2 separate regions of the Homo sapiens genome follow, and region 2 is linked to region 1. Evidence: promoter capture Hi-C in human tissues and cell types (Jung and others, 2019). All regions are on one chromosome and are shown on one strand. The core of a region is centred on a gene start or on the middle of the fragment in contact, and the rest is flanking DNA. Distances in the headings are between cores, read along the strand shown.

Region 1 (2,581 bases), core at 38-2,537:
TGGTCTCGCTGACTTCAAGAATAAAGCTTGTCACCTTCGTGGTGAGTGTTACAGTTTTTTTTTTTTTTTTTTTTTTTTTTTGAGACAAGGTCTCTCTCTGTCTCCCAGGCTGGAGTGCAGTGACGCGATCTCAGGTCACTACAAGCTCTGCCTCTCAGGTTCACGCCATTCCCCTGCCTCAGCCTCCCAAGTAGCTTGGACTACACGACCGGCCAATTTTTTTTTTTTGTATTTTTAGTAGAGACGAGGTCTCACCGTGTTAAGGCAGGATGGTCTCGATCACCTGACCTCCTGATCCACCCGCCTCGGCCTCCCAAAGTGCTGGGAGTGTTACAGCTCTTAAAGGTCCCACAGACCCAAAGAGTGAGCAGCAGCAGCAAGATTTATTGTGAAGAGTGAAAGAACAAACTTTCCACAGTGTGGAAGGGGACCCAGGGCTGCCACTGCCAGCTAGGGGATGGGGGGCGTGGCCAGCTTTTATTTCCTTATTTGTCCCGGCCCAAGTCCTGCGGATTGGTCCACTTTACAGAACACTGATTAGCCCGTTTTACAGGGTACTGATTGGTGCATTTTACAAACCTCTAGCTAGCCACAAAGTGCTGATTGGTGCATTTTACAATCCTAGCTACAGAGTGCTGTTGGTACATTTTACAATCCTCTTGTAAGACAGAAAAGTTCTCCAAGTCCCCAACCGACCCAGAAGACCAGCTGGCTTTACCTCTCACTTAAACCTGTACTGTGTCAATATCCGTACATCAGTAAGTGTTGTCGATCAAGTTAGGGAAGTAGTGGATTTCTGGTGACAAATGTTACCCTTTCCAACTAAAGTTTAAAGAAGGTAAGTTGAACCCAAATCTACATACTGCTGTAGCCCCAAACGGAAATACTGCAAAAGCTCCATCAACGTCTCCCAGTCCATCCAGACTTTTACAAATGGATAGACCCCGGCCGCAGGAAACCAAGGAGCACCTGGGGTTGGGTTGGGTGAATTGGCTCTGGGGCTCATTCTTTTCACTACAGCGCCAGAAAAGCAAAAACCTAAACCAAGACCCAAGAGACCAGCCCTCAGCCTGCACCTGAGAGCACATTTTCCCTAGCCAGCACTGAGCATGCGCAGGCTGCGTGGTGTGGCGAAAGCGCAGCCAGGTCCGCGCTGCCGCCGCAGCCAATCGGAGGGAGGGAGCCGCCCGGACATTGTGAGGTGCCGAGGGAGGGGCGGCGGGCGAGGGGCAGGGCAGGGCGGACCCTGGACGCGCGGGCGCGCGCGGAAGGTAGCGCGGGGCCGCGTTGGCGCGCACGCGCCTGAGCGTGCGCCCGGTGGGGCCGGCCGGGACTCGCCGCTCGCACGCCCTTGGGCCGCGGCCGGGCGCCCGCTCTTCCTTCCGCTTGCGCTGTGAGCTGAGGCGGTGTATGTGCGGCAATAACATGTCAACCCCGCTGCCCGCCATCGTGCCCGCCGCCCGGAAGGCCACCGCTGCGGTGAGTGGCGTAGGCGTGGGCTCGGAGGGGTCCACTGGGCCGGCCACCGGTGGTTGCCCCTCGCGCGGGGTGGGCGTTGCGGGCGCGTGGCGGCCTGCGGACGAGGACGCTCCTCCCGGCCCGGGTGGGGTGCGAATGGTCCGCGCGGCCGGGTCCGCGGGGGGCGGGGGCAGCCGGGGGGTCACAGCCGGCGCGAGGGCCAGTCCCCAGCTCCTCCCTGCATTGCGGAGGAAGTGTGGCCCCGGGACCCCCGCGGGCCGGCCTAGGGCACGGCGTCAGCCTCTGCAGCGTGTTTCTGCCTGGTGTGTGGGTGAGGGAAACCTAAGTCCGCCAGGAAATCGCCTTATTGTCACCTCGCACTCTTATCCTCAATGAAAGAAGTTTGAAGATTGAGTGTCCTACAAGGTCAGACGTACTGTTTTTTAGAAAACTCGTGTATGAAAAGTCAAACTTATTTTTGCCTCCGGAAGCTTGCTTTTGCAGTGGAAAAATTCTACAGGATATGTGAGATGTTCCTGATTTCACTTGAAAGAGATAAACTGTTTTTCTTAGAATGTGATCATTTGCACTCAATGTCTAACTGGGACCTCTCAGTGCTACCCCCCCCCCATTCATTATCTCAGGAAATAAAGGGAGAAGTTGATCAGAATTTTTGCCATTTAAAAGAGGTCGATAAAGATTAAGTCGCCGAAGATAGTGTTGTGTAATTCTCTCGTAGGTTTCGTTCCGTTTTCCACCTTAAGCAAAGCTAGTGTGTAACAATCCTGTGTGGGCTTATTTAGGCATTGCTTATTAATTTTCCTCTTCTCTTATAGGTGATTTTCCTGCATGGATTGGGAGATACTGGGTAGGTACCATTATTATTAATAGTAACAGTAATGAAACTGGGTCATGCAACTTTTGTTTACGCGTTCAAAGGTTTAATGTTTAAGGGCGCTAAAATGGTATTTTAAGATTGCCAGTTAATGTATCTTACAGTGCGGTGATTTTATGTTTTGAAAACCCTCAGAATTTTCCCCTTATCATCGTGAGTTTATTGATTTTTTAACTCTGGTTTCTGGAACATATTAAAATTTCAAATTCCTCATTAGTTGCTTTGGGT
Region 2 (2,581 bases), core at 35-2,534, 360 kb after region 1:
TGGTCCTCATTATTCACAGGTTCCAGAATTGTGAATTTGCCCACCTACTAAAAAGTTTATTTTCAACAGCTGTGTCAATACTAGAGGCGCTTTTGTAGTTATCCATGGACATGTGTAGAGTGGTGAATAATTGGAGTCGCTAATGGACACATCCCCAGCTGTGGGGGAACAAGGCAGCGTTCTGCCATCCCATGTTGTCTCTTACGCTAGAAACAAGCGTCCTTTACGTGGTCTGTTTAGTACCATATTTTTTTTTTTTTGCATTTTTGTGGGGTTTTTGTGTGTGTGTGTGTGGTGATTTTCCTGTTTAAAATGGCCCCCAAACCTTCTGGAGTGCTGTGTAATGTTCCTAAGCACAAGAAGGGGCTGTTACGTGCCTATGGAGAAAACTCGTGTGTTAGAGAAGGTTCCTTCAGCCAGGAGCTATGGTGCTGTTGGCTGCTAGCTCAGGCCTCAGAGGCAGTCTAGAGAACAAGCAGCCTGTGACCGTGCTCTGTGAAGCTCAGTGGGGCTCCAAAGCTGACTGTGAAAGGACCTTGTCAGCTATTTTAAGGATTTGGGTCCTTTGTTTTATTTTTATTTGTTTTTTTTTAAGAAACAGGGTCTTACCCTGTTGCTCCAGCTGGAGTGCAGTGGTGCAATCATAGCTCACTGTAACCTTGAACTGGGCTCAAGCAATCTTCCCACCTCAGCCTCTCAAGTAGCTGGTTCTACAGGTACACACCACCATGCCTGGCTAATTTTTTATTTTAATTTTTTTGTGGGGACAGTATCTCATTGTGTTGTCCAGGCTAGTCTCGAACTCCTGGGCTCAAGCAGTTGTCCCAGCTTGGTCTCTCAAAGTGCTGGGATTACAGGCATGAGCCACTGTGCCTGGCCTGGGTCCTTTTGTTAAGACAAGTAGAAGCCACTGAATTGTTTTAAGTAGTAAAAATCATATGCAGAGTTTTGCCAAGATTCCTTTGACTACAGTGAGAATGGGAGGCGGGAGAGCAGCCTGTATCATCATCGCTGCACAGCTGGGCTTAGTGTCCTGCAGGGACATAGGCTTTATGTCCTTTAATCATCACAGCAACGCTGTGAAGATGTCCTTGTCTTCCCTATTTGTCAGGGAGGAATTTACCAGGTAAAGGACTTGTCTAATTAACATGTTTGATAAATGGCTGAGCTGATATATTAGATAATGTTTTAAAGTACAGTGCCTGGCCTGCAGTAAGCACTCAGTTAATGTTTGATGATAGTTACATTATGTTCTTTTTTTTCCCCTCAGTTCAGTGCATTTTTTTTAAAACCATGCTTTAAAGAATAAAATATGAAAAGGTATGCAGATAAAAGCTTCCCTCTCACTCCGACCCCCATCTACTTATTTCTTCCTGACCCCAGAAACATTACTGATCTGTGAGATTGTCTTAAACCACCAAACACTGTACTGCATTAAGGTGCCGCTTGTCACTGACTATATTGTAGGTATCCTCCACTAGACAGGACTGGTGGCTGAAGAATGGACAGGGCAGTCCACACTGTTGTGTGGAAGCTGAGACTCCACAGCTCTGTCTGTAACCACACCTTTGCAAAGAAACAGAGGACCAATTTCTATGCATGAAGAAATAGCCATTTTTACTTTCCTTTGTGTTTGTAATAAGTGGATTTTCAGGATGTCGGAAGTGTGGTGATAGAAAGCAGTGTCGGTTGTCAGTCATCTCGGTGGTCTCGAAGATATGAATGTTCTCCTTCGTCTCACTGCCCAAGTCACATGGCATATCCCATTGTTATTACAAAGGGGTGGATATCTTAAAATCAGTAGTCTTTTCCAGGAAATTAGCATGGGTGCTCTTTAACCCCCTGTTCCCTGCTATCTACATCTAAGCCCCTATCTTCACGCAGCACGGTCACTGGTGGGCTTGATATTGATTGTATGTTGTTATGAAAATTAGATGGTGTTCAATACTGATATTAAACAAGCAAGAAATACTGATAATAAAAACGTTAATACTCAGCCACTTAGAAAACAATGATCTAAAATACTAGTGCCTGGGTGGTATCTAGGCAGATCATATGTTTCTGGATTAGAGATGAGAAATGAGAACAACTGTTGGATTTATCATTAGGAATTCAAAAACGAAAGTATTTGAATACTGTAAATCTATGGTTCAGGGAAAATGATGTAAAAAAAGACACGTTTGGTTTATTTACGTACATTGTTACTTTCCTTTTTAGCGTGTTGGTATTTGAGCTGCCTGCTTACAAACTGTGAATTTGAGAGTAATTGCATCTTCCTCACCACGTCTCTCCCGTTTGCAGGGTCATCGAGCAGCTCGGTGGGAAGCAGCTGGTCATGAACCACATGCATCATGAAGACCAGCAGGTCCGCTATAATGCTCTGCTGGCCGTGCAGAAGCTCATGGTGCACAACTGGTATGCCACGGCTTTTTGCTCACACTTGTACATTAGTCTGCAAACTCTCACTTGCCATTCTAAAAGTTCTTATGCAAATGCTTTGAATGATCATTTTTAAAATTAGTTATTTTGATTCAAAATTTAGAAATATATTTTAGTAATTCAGAGCAATGACACATTAGTT

What was found. The method cuts DNA at HindIII sites, captures the fragments that hold promoters and counts their contacts. A contact is called where the count stands out against the background at its distance.
Region 2: a fragment that was not itself captured here is called in contact with the fragment with the promoter of LYPLA1 in region 1 in 1 of the 25 tissues and cell types used here (heart left ventricle).

The regions. Positions count from the first base shown.
Region 1 is chr8:54,100,653-54,103,233 of GRCh38, reverse strand. It overlaps LYPLA1 (lysophospholipase 1), which reads left to right and starts at 1,287. Exons shown (of 9, transcript NM_006330.4): 1 at 1,287-1,479; 2 at 2,295-2,326. The coding sequence starts at 1,411. LYPLA1-TCEA1 (LYPLA1-TCEA1 readthrough) reads left to right here and starts at 1,287. Exons shown (of 21, transcript NM_001425842.1): 1 at 1,287-1,479; 2 at 2,295-2,326. RefSeq lists a silencer at 1,164-1,733. The HindIII fragment of the contact is 3,514 bases long and covers 1-2,512 here.
Region 2 is chr8:53,743,411-53,745,991 of GRCh38, reverse strand. ATP6V1H (ATPase H+ transporting V1 subunit H) reads left to right here. Exons shown (of 14, transcript NM_015941.4): 13 at 2,302-2,415. Among named protein-coding and RNA genes, the nearest start is that of ATP6V1H, 99 kb to the left of the region's middle. The HindIII fragment of the contact is 3,769 bases long and covers 1-2,581 here.